Linked DNA regions of Homo sapiens: regions 1, 2, 3, 5 and 6 are each linked to region 4. Evidence: promoter capture Hi-C in 16 types of primary human blood cells and fetal thymus (Javierre and others, 2016). All regions are on one chromosome and are shown on one strand. Each heading gives the region's core, a stretch centred on a gene start or on the middle of the fragment in contact. The rest is flanking DNA. Distances are from core to core; before and after follow the strand shown. Region 1 overlaps NIM1K (NIM1 serine/threonine protein kinase). Region 2 overlaps NIM1K (NIM1 serine/threonine protein kinase). Region 3 overlaps NIM1K (NIM1 serine/threonine protein kinase). Region 4 holds the start of CCL28 (C-C motif chemokine ligand 28). Region 5 has its middle 14 kb from the start of NIM1K. Region 6 overlaps NIM1K (NIM1 serine/threonine protein kinase).

Region 1 (2,700 bases), core at 5-2,504, 140 kb after region 4:
AATCCTAAAAGGTTACTACTGTATGATTTCTTGTATATAATTTTCTTGGAATGACAAAATTATAGAAATGGAGAACGGATTAGTGGCTGGCAGGAGTCAGGGACAGGGTATAGGGGGTTAGGAGGTGGCTACAGAAGAGCCACTTGAAGGGCCCTTGTGATAATGGACTTGTCCTGTATCTTTACTGTGGTGGGGAATATAACAACCTATTTATGTGATAACATTCCATAGAGTTAAAATACATACACATGCATGAATACAAGAACTGGGAAAATCTTAATAAGATCAGTGAATTAGATCAATATTAATATCAAGGTTATGACTATAGTTTTGCAAGATGCAAGTTTGTGTGAAACTGGGTAAATGGTACATGTGGTCTCTGTACATATTCTTACAACTGCATGTGCATAATAAAACATTTTTGAGCACTACTCTAATATATGTATACGTATTTATAAAGTGTATCCATGTACTACTGATTTACACATTTTCAATATATATAATCACAGAAATTAAAAATATATAATCACAAATAAATATAAAAGGAAGTTCTAGTATTTTTTTTCCTCATCCCAGTGAATCATCTTGGGCATTCTCTGGGGGTATATGCACCCTCAGAGATGACTGACTTTGAAGAATTGAAAGAAGAAAGTAGGGCTGGCATACGGGGAAGAAGGAAAAATATAAGCCAAAAAAGAGGCTGGAGAGTTGGCCACACCAAGGTCTTGTGAGTCATTTCACATTAAGGGCAGTAAGAAGCATGCTATTATTATTTTTGCCTATAAAAAGGTATTTCACATATATAAATTAAAAACCCACAAACTTAAAACTGCCACTTGAAAAAAAAAAAGAAGCTGCTGGAAGCTTGTAAGTAGGTAGTTACATGATCAGGCTTGTAATTTCTAAAACATCACCTCTGGCTGCTATGGGGGAAATGATATAAACATGAAGACAAATTACAGTAGCTTAATCCAATGAGGAAAGGAGGAGATATTTAGGAAGTGAAATCAATACCACTTGGTGTTTGGGTGTTAGGGGTTGAGGAAAAGGTCAAGGTTTCTCAGTTGAGCAACTGGGAGGCTGGTGACATTCACTGGAGGAGGATCTCTATTAATGTTATCATGCCTTCGGGCACTCCCTAAGTTCCCCTGTCTCTCTCCCAGGTTGTTGAGTTCACTTTGCTAAACCATGACTCTGGTTAAATCCAGCTTCCCACTACTCTCTGCCTGCACCCATGCTGTTGGACATAATGGCTTGTCTCACTTTGAATTTCTGGTCACTAACTTCAGTTGGCCCTTTAAAGCGCCTGGCAGACATACTTTCCCTAGTCCAATAAACCTCATACACTTTTGTATAACTCTTTCATGGCTTCTTTTCTCTCATCAAGTCTCTAATGCCTTCTTCCACTCCTCATTCACAGCTGGTAACCTTGCTTCCTACTTTATTGAGTAAAATAAGCAATAGAGGAGAATTTCCTCAAGTCCTTCCCACCATGTCTTCCAACCTACTGGAATCTCTCTTCCTTCATTTTACTTTGGATAAACAATTCCTACTCCTATCTAAGGCCTAGCTAAGACTCCTTTACATGTTGAATAGATTCCATCTACTCTCATATACTAAAGAGCAGCCCTCCAAAAAAGCTTTCTTTCTTCTCTCCTGCATCAATTTTCTCTTCCCACTGGATTGTTTCCATCATCACACATTTATGTCATTGATAAAAATCTTCCCCTCAGCAGAAACCTTACAAGCCAGAAGGGATTGGGGTCCAATCTTTAGCCTCCTTAAACAGAATAAGTGTCAGTCAAGAATTTTGTGTCCAGCAAAACTAAGTTTCATAAATGAAAGAGAAATAAAGTCTTTTCCAGACAAGCAAATGATGAAGGAATTTGTAACTACCAGACCAGCCATACACAAAATTCTAAAAGGACTTCTAAATCTTGAAACCAAAAGTTGACATGCATCAGAATAAAACCTCTTGAAAGCATAAAACTCACAGGGCCTATAAAACAATAACACACACACATGGCCGGGCACGGTGGCTCACACCTGTAATCCCAGCACTTTGGGAGGCCAAGGGGGGTGGATCACGAGGTCAGGAGATCGAGACCATCCTGGCTAACATGGTGAAACCCCGTCTCTACTAAAAATACAAAAAATTAGCCAGGCGTAGTGGCGGGTGTCTGTAGTCCCAGCTACTCGGGAGGCTGAGGCAGGAGAATGGCATGAACCCAGGAGGCGGAGCTTGCAGTGAGCAGAGATCTCGCCACTGCACTCCAGCCTGGGTGACAGAGCAAGACTCTGTCTCAAAAAAATTAAAATAAAAAAATAAAAACAATAACACACACACACACACAAAAGGATCCAGGTAATAATCAACATGATGAGGAGAATCGTACCTTACATCTCAATGTTAATATTAAACATAAATGGCATAAATGCTCCACTGAAAACATACAGATTGGCAGAATGGATAAAATATCACAAACCAAATATCTGCTGTCTTCAAGAGACTCATCTAATGCATAAGGATTCACACAAGCACAAGGTAAAGGGGTGGGAAAAGATGTTCTGTGTATATGGAAACCAAAGGCTAGCAGGAGTAGCTATTCTTTTTTTTTTTTCTTTTTTTTTTTGAGATGAAGTCTCACTTTGTTGCCCAGGCTGGAGAGCAAGGCGCAATCTTGGCTCACTGCAACCTCT
Region 2 (2,700 bases), core at 175-2,674, 180 kb after region 4:
AGCAGCTCATCACAGGCAAGGAAGATGCTTCCAGTAACTATGCCTGAAGGCACTACACCATTGGCCAGGAGATCACTGACCTCGTTTTGGACCAAATTTGTAAACTGGCTGAACAGTGCATGGATCGCCAAGGCTTCTTGTTTTTCCACAGCTTTGGTGAAGGAATTGGTTCTGGGTTCACCTCCCCGCTCATGGAACAACTCCCGGTTGATTACGGCAAGAAGTCCAAGCTGCAGTTCTCCATTTACTCACCACCCCAGGTTTCCACAGCTGTAGTTGAGCCCTACAACTCCATCCTCACCTCCCACACCACCCTGGAGCACTCTGATTGTGTCTTCATGGTAGACAATGAGGCCACTTATGATATCTGGCATAGAACCTTGATACTGAACGCCCAACCTATACTAAACTGAATAGGTTGATAGGTCAAATTGTGTCCTCCATCACTGCTTCCCTGAGATTTGATGGAGTCCTGAATGTTGATCTGACAGAATTCCAGACCAAGCTGGTGGCCTATCCCCCCATCCACTTCCGTCTGGACACATATGCCCTGTCATCTCTGCTGAGAAAGCCTACCATGAAACAGCTTTCTGTAGCAGAGACTGCCAGTGCTTGCTTTCAGCCTGCCAACCAGATGATGAAATGTGAGCCTTGCCATGGTAAATACATGGCTTGCTGCCTGTTTTACCGTGGTGACATGGTTCTCAAAGACGTCAATGCTGCCATTGCCACCATCAATCAAGACCAAGTGTATCATCTAATTTGTGGTTTGGTGCCCCCTGGCTTCAAGGTTGGCATTAACTGCCAGCCCTCCCACTGTGGTGACTGGTGGAGACCTGGTCAAGACACAGAGAGCTGTGTGCATGCTGAGCAATACCACAGCCATTGCTGAGGCCTGGGCTCACCTGGACCACAAGTTTGACTTGAATGTATGTCAAGAGTGCTTTTGTTCACTGGTACGTGGGTGAGAGAAGGGAGGAAGGAGAGTTTTCTGAGGCCAGTGAGGACATGACTGCCCTTGAGAAGGATTATAAGGAGGTTGGTGTGGATTCTGTTGAAGGAGAAGGTGAGGAAGAAAGAGAGGAATACTAAAGTGAAAACGTCACAAAGGTGCTGCTTTTACAGGGAAGCTTATTCTGTTTTAAACATTGAAAAGTTGTGGTCTGATCAGTTAATTTTTATGTAGCAGTGTATGCTCTAATATACAACTACTGACCTATGCTTTAAAACATGAATGCTTTTGCAGACCCAGACTGTCCATTTCTGTGATGGGTTTTAAAAACAATAATAATAATAAATGTTTTTTAAAAGTGAACAAATATGTAGTAACAATCTGAACTAACAGAATAAATAATACTTTTAAAAAATCTTCATATATATGGAGATTTAATATGTAATAGAGGTGGCATTTGAGACCACTGGGAAAAGGTAAACGATTCAATATTATGATGCTTGCAGGGGCTAAACCAAGAGATGGCTTCAGCTTTCACACCACCACAAATTCTTCATTAGCCCTCATTCTTTGACACACATAAGAAAATTATACATTTATAAATATAGATATATAGATATAGATAGAGGAAGAGATAACTAGAGTTTCACTCTGTCACTCAGGCTGGACTGCAGTAATGAGAGGATGGCTCACTGCAGCCTCGATCTCCTGGACCCAAGCAATCCACCCAACTCAGTCTCCTGAGTAGCTGCGACAACAAGCTTGTGCCAACATGCCCAGCTAATTTTTTATTTTTTGTAGAGATGGTGTCTCACTATGTCGCCCAGGCTGGTGTTGAACTCCTGAGCTCAAGTGATCCCCCAGCCTCAGCCTCTCAAAATCCTGGGATTATAGGTGTGAGCCACAGCATCCAGCCAAGAAAATAATATATTTTTTGATTAGTGTAAAGTGCCATGCAAATACAGAGGCTCATGCCTCTTCTAGTAATATTACTATTCCAAGACACACCCATATAGAAATGCTGGAGTCACTACTGGGTGTCAGGACAGACCATGTGCATATGCACGTAGTGCGTACTTGTACATGCACAAAAAAAAGCTCTGGTAAAATGCAGATTGAACTAGTGGGTGACAAATGGGGAAGGAGTGTGAGGTACAGAATTGGGGAGGAGTGAAAATGACGGTGATGGGGGTTGTTATCCCCCCTTCATCTGTTCTTTCTTCTATAGCAGTGGTTCTCAACCTTAACCTGCATGAAAATCACCAGAGAGCATTCAAAAAATGCAGAAGTCTAGGCCCTGCCCCCCAAATATTGTGATTGAATTGGCCTGTGGAGTGGGAGGTGTCTATTTGTTTAAGTTTTCCAGGTGATTCTGTTGTGCAGCCAAACTTGAAAACCACTATTTTATAACAGAGAAGTTTTAGCTGGGCACATTGCTATCCAACTGAGGACTGTATTTCCCAGTTTTGGCTATAGTTTAGTTTGGCCATGTATCTGAGTTCCAGTCATGGGCTGTGAGCACAAGTGACATACGTGACTGCCATGTTGTGACCTTTAAAAAAAGAAGCATGACCTCTCGCCTCTTCCTTCTTCCCATCTTCCTGCTAGCTAGAATGTGGACACAGTGGGGTAAATGGAAACAGCCACCTTGGACCAAGATGGAAGCCATGTGCTGAGAATTGCAGAGCCACCGAGAAGGAGCCTAAACCCATCACTACACAGTCACCAGATCAACCCAGGATTGCTAC
Region 3 (2,732 bases), core at 77-2,576, 200 kb after region 4:
ACAGAGATTTTCTTGGTTTAAGGGCTAAAAATATGCATATATCTCTACTGTGATCTGGGAATGTGGCCTGTCTCTGATAACCATGTGTGTAAAAGTGAGTGAATCCTCCCTGATACAGTCAACTGGCTCAGATGCCTGGGATGGTCGAGTCCAGCATTCCAAAACTGAGATATTTTTGGCTGGGTGTGGTGGCTCATGCCTGTAATGCCAGCACTTTGGGAGGCCGAGGTGGGAGGATTGCTTAAGGCCAGGTGTTCAAGACCAGCCTGGGTAAAAAGGTAAGACAAAAAAAAAAAAAGAAAGAAAGAGAAGAAGGAAGGAGAAAGAAAAAAGAAAGAAAGAAAGAGAGAAAGAGCTAGGCATGGTGGCTCCAGCCTGTAATCTCAGCACTTTAGGAGGCTGAGTTAGGCAGATCACTTGAGATCAGGAGTTTGAGACCAGCCTGGCCAACATGGTGAAACCCATCTCTTCTAGAAATACAAAAATTGGCCGGGGCAGTGGCTCACACCTGTAATCCCAGCACTTTGGGAGGCCAAGCTGGGTGGATCACCTGAGGCCAGGAGTTCAAGACCAGCCTGGCCAATATGGCAAAACCCAAGCTCTACTAAAAAAATACAAAAATAAGCCGGGCGTGGTGGCAGGCACCTGTAATCCCAGCTACTCTGGAGGCTGAGGCAGGAGAATCACTTGAACCTGGGAAGTGGAGGTTACAGTGAGCAGAGAATGTGCCACGGCACTCCAGCCTGGGTGACAGAGCGAGACTCCGTCTCAAAAAGAAAAAAAAAATAGCCAGATGTGGTGGTGCATGCCGGTAATCCCAGCTACTTGGGAGGCTGAGGCACGAGAATCACTTGAACCTGGGAGGTGGAGGTTGCAGCGAGCCAAGATCGTGCCGCTGCGCTCCAGCCTGGGTGACAATGAATGAGACTCCAACTAGAAAAGAAAAGAAAAGAAAAGAAAAGAAAAGAAAAGAAAAGAAAAGAAAAGAAAAGGAAAGGAAACAAGAAAGAAAAAGAAACAAGAAAGAACAAGAAAGAAAGAAAGGAAGAAAAGAAGGAAAGAAAGAAAGAAAGAAAGAAAGAAAGAAAGAAAGAAAGAAAGAAAGAAAGAAAGAAAAAAAGAAAGAAAGAAAATGGAGATTTTTTTCAAAGTTTTGAATCCAGAAATAGGAGGACTTAGAAAAAATGATATCAGGCACCAAATAAGTGGTTGAAATGGTGGCATAGTTACCAGTTGCCTGAATACACCCTCTGGCAAAGGTGGATGCTTAAATATTGATGAAAAACAGTAAATGGCACATATGGGAGCCCATATTCTACTCTGCACCTGGGCGAACACAGAGGGGAAGCTGAAGCTATAATTGAGAATATATCTGGTACACATTCTAAATTTGCTTTTGTTTGCTCTTGAAGTTAGGGCTTTGAGGCTCTTGAAAGGAAACAGTGCAATGAACACTAGACCCAAGTGCATGGTGAGAATATGCTTCCTAACAGAGTCTTTGGTGCTCTAGAACATTCAGGAGCAATCGCAGTGATATATTTAGCTGCTGCCTGGGGCCTTGTTCCCAGACGTTTAGAGTTGGTGTCTCTATCAGGCTGCATCTTCTGCTTTTGTCACTGAGCCACAGTCCCAGAGTGACTGAGGGGACTGAGTTATCTTTGTACACAGGAGCCACTAAAAGGAGGAGGACTAGAGATGGGAGGAAGGAATGAGGGAGTCCTGCTGAGCCCTCCTCTCCTGAGCCCCAGGGTTGCTTCTGGAGCCTCATGACGACGGTGCTGAAACCATGGTATGTTACAGGCTGACTCTGGTCCTGAGCATTTTAAAGACTGTGGAGGGATTTATTTTTGGTCCTCACGTGAGAGTATTTAAAAATCCCTATTGGAGCCTGGACTAAGCTCAAAGGATAGAGGGCCTCTGCAACAGGAACAGGTTGGGACCATTCCTGTCTGGGAGGAGACCTCTGCCATGTGTTGGGAAGGATAAGGAACAGAAACCCAGAAATGATGTGCGATCCGTTGGCCAAGCAGGAAACCTAGGTGCCATTCCTGTCCTCTACCTTCCCCTCACCCAATCCTGTTGATCCTCCCACTTCCACACCACCCCAATCCTTTTACATTTCCATCCTGGGATCCCACAGTAGGTAGAGATGCACATGCTTTAAGGCACCAGCAGACCAGGCGCATCCAAGAGAGGCGGAAATAAAAGTCTTAAAATACTTTTATATTCAATATATATATTTCTCAATGCATCTAGGTAATCATCCTAAGAAAAATCCGAATTTTGTTTTTGTTAGTCTTATATGGTTAGCTTTGCTTGAATTTTGAGTTGCATGTGTGGTTTGATGAAGGGTCTTAATCCCATTCTGTGCCTAGGTGGCTTTAAGAACCTTCTAGCAGGCTTCCCTACTTCCCATCTTAATTTTATTCCCAGCTCAATTTTATTCTCCAGCAAACCACTTGTGTGATTATTCCAAAATGTAGATTTTACCACAGTACTGTCCTGCTTAAAATCCTTCATTAAAATGTCTGTAGGATAAAATTAGATTTCCATTGCATGGTCTAGAAAGCTCCTCAAGATCTAGTTCTTGGCTTTATTTCTAGCTTCATTTCTCATCTCCCCTGTTCCCACTTACCCCCCTCCATATGCCCTATATTTGAGATGTCTCCAAGTACTTGAGGTCTCACAAACATCCTGTTGGGGCTTAGCAGCCAATATTCCAGAATATGATA
Region 4 (2,700 bases), core at 196-2,695:
AGTTATAAGCCAGGAACCATGGATAAAAGCCAATATATATATCATAACACCACAACCCGAGACTGAGCAATTTATAAATAACAGAAATGTATTCTCTTACAATTATGGAGGCTGGGAAGTCCAAGATCAAGGCTCCAGTGATTTCAGTTTCTATTTCCAAGATGATGCCACTTTGCTGCATCTTTTGGAGAGAAGGAGCATTGTGTACTCACCTGGCAGAAGAGCAGAAGGTACCAACCCATTCCCACAAGCCCTTTTTATAGTAGCATTCATCCATTCATGAGGGTGGAGCCATCATAACCTAAACATTGTCCATTAGGCCCTATCTCCCAGCACTATTAGGGATTAATTTTCAACATGAGCTTTGGAGAAGAAAAAAATATTCAAACCACAGCAGTAATTTGAAAACATAAAAAGAAATGGGTGAAATTAATTTTAATAATATATTTTATTTAACCCAAAAAGTCCAAAATACTATCATGTAATCAATAAACAGTATAAACATTATTAACAAGATATTTTATATTTTTTTCTGTACCCAGTCTTTGAAATCCAGTGTGAATTTTATACCCATAGTACATCTGAGTTTGGACTACTCATATTTCAAGTGCTCAAGAGCCACATGTGGGCTAGCGGCTACCACATAGGACAACACAGTTCTAGAGGAAGCATGGCATGACTTTGGAGGTCATCTAGTCTGACTTGTTATTTACAGCAAAGTTAAGTACGTTGCCTGAGGTTATACAACTTATTAGTAGATGAGGAACAATTAGAATCCAATTATCTTCATGCTACCCCATGCTTTTATTCACAAAGCTGATTGGCAGCAAAGCTGCACTAGCGCTCATGCCTCTTCACACCTGCTCTTGGGCTCTTTTCTACAAGGCATTGCCCCCCTTCCTGTCTTTCTCCTAAATAAGCTATTGTAAAAAGCTTCACTGGAAACAATTTGGCTGTGAACCAAGACTAAAGTGGGGTTTAATACTTCCATATCTTTCCACAAAGATACATTTTTTATGACTTGTCACCCTTGTCCCCAGAAACTCATGGTTTCCATAAGCTACTTAAAAACTGATTATGCAATGGGTCTCAACATAAGTGTCCATCAGAATCACCTATAGAGCTTTTACAAAATTCAAATGACTGGTCTCCTACCTGGGAGTTCTGGTTTACAAATCAGGGAAAGGGGAGAGTCATTTAGATTGATTTTTTTTAATGTTCCCCAAATGATTCTGATGCACACCCCACCTCACAGTGACCCTGCCAGCTGCCAGATCTCCATTGACATCCCCTGACCCCCAGGCAGGATGAACACAAGTTAGGAGCTTAATAAGTCGAGGAGGAGCCTGGTCTTAAGGAAAGAAACATGAGAAATAGATACCCTGAACACCTCCCAGGGCGGGGCCACCTGGCTTACTTTTCCTCTGCACTTTCTCTGTGCCCAAGGACACCTTTAGCCTCATTTCCTGATCGAACAGCCTCACTTGTGTTGCTGTCAGTGCCAGTAGGGCAGGCAGGAATGCAGCAGAGAGGACTCGCCATCGTGGCCTTGGCTGTCTGTGCGGCCCTACATGCCTCAGAAGGTGAGTGGGGGCACTGGACACTTAGGCCTTCACTGGAAAGGGGGGTATCTCCCAAATCTGTGCTGGAAGGATTGAGGTGGGGCAAGAATATCTATCTCTTCAAGCAGGAATTTCCAATTGATTTCTGATTACCTACAAGAGAATGACATAGCTTTAAATTCTAGATCTCCCAGAAGTTTCAGGAAGGAACCTCATTCTAACAGGCATACTACAAATTTTTGCCACCTGGAGGATGAGGTCCTTCCATGTAGGTACAACTTCGAGCTATGTTTCCTTTTCTGAAGACAGTATCTTAGAAAATCCCCAGCTAGAGGCTGGAGTAAAGCCCCTACTATTCATCTGTCTTCCTCCACACCCCAACCTGCTAAACGGTCTGAACACAACTGTGCACATTCCTGGAGGGAAATACAGACTTGGCCAGCTGCGTTCAAATTAGGTAAGTTGTAAATTTCCTGAGCAAAGTCAGCTCTATGGATACAGAAAACTGAAACTTCAGTCTGACCTTTAAAAAGGGAGGGCAGAGCTGAGCACAGTGGTGCATGCCTGTATTCCCACCTACTTGGGAGGCTACGGCTGGAGGATAGCTTCAGGCCAGGAATTCAAGATTGCAGTGAGCTATGATCACACTGTGAATTGCCACTGCACTCTGAATTGCCACTGCACTCCAGCTTGGGCAACATAGTAAAACCCCATCTGTTAAAAACAAAAAGAGGGGAGGGGAGGGGAAAGAGAAGGAAAGGAAGAAAGGAAAGGAAAGAAAGAAAAAGAAGAAAAGCAGGATGAGGGAGATTGAACCATACAAATTATGTCAAAGAGAATTTAAATCGTGAGTTGCTAGCATGTATTTGGAGATTGTAACTGCATTTGAACTAGAGGGAATCTCTTCTAAAGTAGCACTCACTACTATATTCAGGAAACCCTAAGTGTCAGTACTTAATACTTGACCAATGACTCTTTTCCATTGTCATCTTTTCTTTAAGCTTTATCCTGAACAGATTCTCTAAGTCTAGAGCAGAGGTGGAATATAAGTCTTTGGTCTGCTTTTTAAAAATCTGAGCCAACATTTTAAAACTGAAAGCTTTCTCATGTACATACTCATACATACACACATACAAAT
Region 5 (2,700 bases), core at 157-2,656, 230 kb after region 4:
CGCACCTGTAGTCGTAGCTACTCAGGAGGCTGAAGTGGGAGGGTTGCTTGAGCCCAGAAGTTAAAGGTTGCAGTAAGCCGAGATTGTGCCACTGCACTCTAGCCTGGGTGACACAGCGAGACCCTGTCTAAAAAAAAAAAAAAATATTTATAGGGACATGTTGGGTTGCAGGAAGGGCAAAGAGAAGATTGAATTGCAGGAAGGGCGAAGAGAAAAAGATTGAATTCACATGCTGCCTTCTTTACCATGTCAATAGAATTAATGAAGTTACATTTGCAGGGCAGGGAGTAGAGTTTTAAGAAGTTCAGACTATTATGACAGCCTCTGGTTTTTTTTTGTTTGTTTTTTATGGGTTTTAAAGTAATAAATATCTAGGCTTCTAACTATGAAGGATTTTATTAACTGATGGGGTGATGAGGGTTTAATTCCTTCTTCTCATTTGAATTCTTCATGACAAATCCTGTAAGAGGTATAGCACAGCTCAGCAGATTACACAAGAAAAACAATCTAGATCTCCCTCTCCTGATGTAATTAACACAAAGGTCAGTGTTAACCTAATGAATTCAAAGCTATTAGTTTTCTCCAACAAAATCAGACTAAACTTTCTAGGTCAGGCATTTGTTTGTAATTTTGCATCTAAGAGTTATAAAATACTTTTTGTGTGACTAGTTTAATGATCATAGAATCACTTGTTTAAAACAACCAACCCATGTTAAATTGAAAATGCGAATTAAAATCCACTTGATTGGTAAAGGTATCTACATTTAGGCCTCACTCTATGGCTTAATAAGCCTGTTGGCTTATTCAAACTATGAAATGGGTAGTTAGTCCAGAGAACTTTCATGGACCCTTCCAATAATGACATCTTTAATTCCAAGTTCAAACTAGTGGGAGCAGAAGCATTCAAATTCTCATGAAAATGTCCCTACATTCAGTATTATCTGAGTATGGTAGCCTTTTTATTTTTATTTATTTATTTATTTATTTATTTATTTTGAGACAGAGTCTTGCTCTGTGGCCTAGGCTGGAGTGCAGTGGCACGATCTCAGCTCACTGCAACCTCCATCTCTCGGGTTCAAGCGATTCTCCTGCCTCAGCCTCCTGAGTAGCTGGGATTACAGGCATCCGCCACCATGCCTGGTTCATCTTGTATTTTTAGTAGAGATGGGGGTTTCACCATGTTGGCCCAGGCTGGTCTCGAACTCCTGAACTGGTGATCTGTCCACCTTGGCCTCCCAAAGTGTTGGGATTACAGGCGTGAGCCACCGTGTCCAGCCAGGTAGCCTTTTTAAACTGGTAAGACTACAAGAGCCTTCTGATTTTGTACATATCCAAAAGATGTCTAGCTTTTAAATGTATTGCTAATGTATTCAGTTTAGTTTTTCTTTCAATCTCAAATGATAGGTGTGGTGTAATTAAAAAAAAAAAAAAAATAGGCCAAGCACGGTGGCTCATACCTGTAATCCCAGCACTTTGGGAGGCTGAGGTGGGTGGATCACCTGAAGTCGAGAGATCGAGACCAGCCTGACCAACATGGTGAAAACCCGTCTCTACTGAAAAAAAAAAAATTAGCCGGGCATGGTGGCGCATGCCTGTAATCCCAGCTACTCGAGAGGCTGAGGTATGAGAATCGCCTTAACCTGGGAGGTGGAGGTTGCAGTGAGCAGAGATCGTGCCATTGCACTCCAGCCTGGGCAACAAGAGTGAAACTGTCTAAAAACAAAACAAATAAAATGGATTTGGGTTTTTCTCCCTGGTTCCTTGCACACAGCTCCAAAAATCCTTGTAATTTCCAGAATGTCTTTTGTTATTCATTACAAGCCCCTTTTGATCTTACCAGTTTATGCTAATGAGATGACTACTGGCAGAGGGCCCCTAGATAGCTTCAAGATGGGCACGGGTCACTAGAGGAACCAGTTGTATTAAAGGGCTACAACTATTACCCCCACCCGAGACCTCCAGGGAGAAGAGGGGCTGGAGATTGAGCCCGGAGGCCAATAATTTAATGAGTCTAGGTTATAAAATGTCAGTAAGGGAGCTTCTGAGTTGAACACATCAACATGCTGGGAAAGTGGCATGCCAAGTGAGGGCAGAGAAACCTCTACTATTCTCCTCCACAACCCCCTCCATCCACCTTACTCTATGCATCTCTTCCATTTGGCTGTTCCTGAATTGTATACTTACTGTAGTCGTTAAGTATAGTGCTTTCCTGAGTTGTTTCAATGCATTATTGAACTTGGGGGGATGGGAAGGCCATAAGAACCCTAAATTTACGGTTGGCTGGGCAGAAGCGCGGGTAGCCTGTTGATCGCATTTGTGGCTGGTGTCTGAAGTGGGGGCAATTTTGTGGTACTGAGCACTTAACTTGCTCTAAATCTGGGTGGTGTCAGATTCAATTGTTGGACACCCAATTGATGTCTGAGAATTGCTGTTGAAACGGAGTAGAGATAGAAAAGCCTCTCATCGTTCTCAGTGCACTTGGGACTTATTTCTATGTGATCATCATTGCACACTCTACTGTCCAACTTGGTACCTCATACTGTAGACTTATCTTAAAACTCCAGTACAAATACAGTAGAACACTGGAGGACTAAATATCCAGTTTGCTTCAGTACTTGAAGCAAATATACATCAGTTGTTAACAGCTGTTTTATGTTCTACATAAAGTGCTTTCCAACTACAAAATGTTATTCAACATAC
Region 6 (2,700 bases), core at 158-2,657, 220 kb after region 4:
GGTATGGAGTATGGATCATGGAAATTGAGGCAGTATAAAGGGTGGAAAAATCAGTACCTCTGTGTTCTGTAGGAGCTCAAGGGCTGGCGCTGTTGATTACATCTGAGGGAGTATTTGGCTACATTTCAAATTTCCAAAAAGTTTAAAAGGCTCTTTAAAAATCTTCATGATTAAAAATGACTAAGGTGTATTTTATTAGCCAAGAATAGAACTAATTTGGCCAGGCGTGGTGGCTCACGCCTGTAATCCCAGCACTTTGGGAGGCCAAGGCAGAAGGATGGCTTGAGGCCAGGAGTTCAAGACCAGCCTGGGCAACATAGAGAGGCCCGCCCCCCCTACCACCGACAACTCTACAAAAATAAAAAACTTAGCTGGACATGATGGTGCATGCCTGTAGTCCCAGCTACTCTGGAGTCTGAAATGAGAGGATCACTTGTGCCCAGAAGTTCTAGGCTGCAGTGAGCTATGATTGTACCACTGCACTGTAGTCTAGGTGAGTGAGATCCTGCCTCTAAATAAAACATAAAAATAAATAAGTCAATAGATTCTGTCCAAAATTGATAAATCAAGAACCAGTGGCCAGGCATGGTGGCTCATGCTTGTAATCCCAGCACTTTGGGAGGCCAAAGTGAGAGGATTGCTTGAGCCCAGGAGTTTGAGACCAGGCTGGGCAACATAGTGAAACCTTGTCTTTACCAAAAAAAAAAAAAAAAAAAAAAAGCTGGGCATGGGCATGGTAGCGTGCACCTATAGCCCCAGCTACTCAAGAGGTTGAGGGGGAAGGATTGCTTGAACTCAGGAATTTAAGGCTGCAGTGAGCCATGATCACACCACTGTACTCTACCCTGGGCAACAGTGTGAGAACCTGTCTCAAGAAAAAAAGAAAAAACAGCAACATAAGCTAATTATTTGGACATAGGGAGGTAAGTGATCAAACAGCCAAGAGTTCAAAATGATTGCCTCTGGAGACTGGGACTGTTGTTTTAGTTATAAGCTTTTATTTTTTATTTATTTATTTATTTATTTTTGAGACAGAGTCTCGCTCTGTCGCCCAGGCTGGAGTGCAGTGGCGCGATCTCGGCTCACTACAAGCTCCATCTCTCAGGCTCAAGCCATTCTCCTGCCTCAGCCTCCCGAGTAGCTGGGACTACAGGCGCCCACCACCACACCTGGCTAATTTTTTTTTTTTTGTATATTTAGTAGAGACAGGGTTTCACTGTGTTAGCCAGGATGGTCTCGATCTCCTGACCTCATGATCCACCCACCTCGGCCTCCCAAAGTGCTGGGATTACAGGCGTAAGCCACCGCGCCCAGCCAGTTATAAGCTTTTAATATACTCTCATAAAATTAGGTGAATGCATTGTGATGATAACAATTTGAACAATTTTTTAAAGTAAAAAGAAAAATTTCAGTGCAATTATGTAATCAAGTGTATCCATATATTATCCCAACTAGATAATTCCAACAAATAGAGACACAGAAAGCTTCTTGATGGCTTTAGGATTAGGGAGAAAAGATCTAATGAGCAGCTAGTTCAGGAGACCCGAAAAGACAGCTGCCTCAGCCCACACCACTTGGATGGGTGGCAGGGAGTCAGAATGAACTAAGATCTGCCGCTAAGGCCTCCCAAGTCACACGATTTTGCTAAATAGGGTACTGACTGCTTTCTGGAAAACCATCAGTGTTCTCTGTGGAAGATGAAGAGTGGAGTTCTTCTTAGTTTCCTATTCTGCAACTTCGTTTTCCTTCTGTGCAACCCTCTTTTCACTTGATGTTTTCGCTTTTACTTTCTTTCTATTAATCTGCTTTCTCCTTACAGTTTTTTCCCCTTAACAGTTTTATTTTGCTCTCTAATCTTAAATTCTTCCCGCTATCCATGCCCTGAATTTCTCTTAAGTCTTGGCTAATGCTCATATTCATAATGCTCATGTCAGACAATTTAGATTTTTGTCTCGATTTTCCAAGTGGTTAGCTGAAATCACTTTTTTTTTTTTTTTTTTTGGATTCAGAGTCTTTCTGTGTCTCCCAGGATGGAATGCAGTGGCATAATCACAGCTCACTGCAGCCTTGAACCTCCCAGGCTCAAGCAATCCTCCTCCCTCAGTCTCCCCAGTAGCTGGGACTACAGGCATGCACCACCACACCCAGCTAATTTTTAAAAAATTTTTATAGAGACAAGGTCTCACCATGTTGCCCAGGCTGGTCTCGAACTCCTGGGCTCAAGCAGTCCTTCTGCTTCAGCCTCCCAAAGTATTGGGATTACAGGCCTGAGCCACGGCACCGACCTATCACTTGGCTTTTGAACACAACTTGTCCATCTGTAAAACTGATTAATATTCCTCAGGATGCTGTATAATAATGGCTAAGCTAACCTTGAAGTTCTTGAGAGAAAGTAATTTAAGAACTATGATGTGGTTAATTCAAGTTGTAGACTATTATCTTCATAAGCAATTTGAATATTTTCTTCTTCTCCTGAAAATTAAAACTTCAATTCTAGAGACCTTTTTCTAGAATGACAATAGGAAATGACAAAATACAAAATGAAACAAATTTTATGAACAGTTTGTCCTTTCAACAAGTGAAAGAAAATCAACCAATGAATTAAAACTCTTTAATCCCTAGAGAAATACAGTGATCAGATTCAAAGAATGAAGTTGGATTTAATGTTATATTTTAATTTTTAAGTTTCTCAAAATGAAA

What was found. The method cuts DNA at HindIII sites, captures the fragments that hold promoters and counts their contacts. A CHiCAGO score of 5 or more calls a contact.
Region 1: a fragment that was not itself captured here is called in contact with the fragment with the promoter of CCL28 in region 4 in 1 of 17 cell types (erythroblasts); the score reaches 5.2 in erythroblasts.
Region 2: a contact is called between a fragment that was not itself captured here and the fragment with the promoter of CCL28 in region 4, in 4 of 17 cell types (erythroblasts, M1 macrophages, megakaryocytes and 1 more). The highest score is 8.3, in erythroblasts.
Region 3: a contact is called between a fragment that was not itself captured here and the fragment with the promoter of CCL28 in region 4, in 3 of 17 cell types (erythroblasts, M1 macrophages and megakaryocytes). The highest score is 6.5, in erythroblasts.
Region 5: a fragment that was not itself captured here is called in contact with the fragment with the promoter of CCL28 in region 4 in 5 of 17 cell types (erythroblasts, M1 macrophages, megakaryocytes and 2 more); the score reaches 9.6 in erythroblasts.
Region 6: a fragment that was not itself captured here is called in contact with the fragment with the promoter of CCL28 in region 4 in 4 of 17 cell types (M1 macrophages, erythroblasts, megakaryocytes and 1 more); the score reaches 8.1 in M1 macrophages.

What each region holds. Positions count from the first base shown.
Region 1 is chr5:43,269,242-43,271,941 of GRCh38, reverse strand. The region is part of intron 2 of NIM1K (NIM1 serine/threonine protein kinase); the gene reads right to left. Among named protein-coding and RNA genes, the nearest start is that of HMGCS1, 43 kb to the left of the region's middle. The HindIII fragment of the contact is 776 bases long and covers 867-1,642 here.
Region 2 is chr5:43,230,204-43,232,903 of GRCh38, reverse strand. All of the region lies in intron 1 of NIM1K (NIM1 serine/threonine protein kinase), which reads right to left. It also overlaps the pseudogene TUBAP14. Among named protein-coding and RNA genes, the nearest start is that of NIM1K, 39 kb to the right of the region's middle. The HindIII fragment of the contact is 583 bases long and covers 1,133-1,715 here.
Region 3 is chr5:43,211,550-43,214,281 of GRCh38, reverse strand. The region is part of intron 1 of NIM1K (NIM1 serine/threonine protein kinase); the gene reads right to left. Among named protein-coding and RNA genes, the nearest start is that of NIM1K, 21 kb to the right of the region's middle. The HindIII fragment of the contact is 4,233 bases long and covers 1-2,732 here.
Region 4 is chr5:43,411,136-43,413,835 of GRCh38, reverse strand. CCL28 (C-C motif chemokine ligand 28) reads left to right here and starts at 1,445. Exons shown (of 3, transcript NM_148672.3): 1 at 1,445-1,583. The coding sequence starts at 1,520. The HindIII fragment of the contact is 1,630 bases long and covers 936-2,565 here.
Region 5 is chr5:43,177,256-43,179,955 of GRCh38, reverse strand. No RefSeq gene overlaps it. Among named protein-coding and RNA genes, the nearest start is that of NIM1K, 14 kb to the left of the region's middle. The HindIII fragment of the contact is 3,514 bases long and covers 1-2,700 here.
Region 6 is chr5:43,194,963-43,197,662 of GRCh38, reverse strand. The region is part of intron 1 of NIM1K (NIM1 serine/threonine protein kinase); the gene reads right to left. Among named protein-coding and RNA genes, the nearest start is that of NIM1K, 4.1 kb to the right of the region's middle. The HindIII fragment of the contact is 159 bases long and covers 1,328-1,486 here.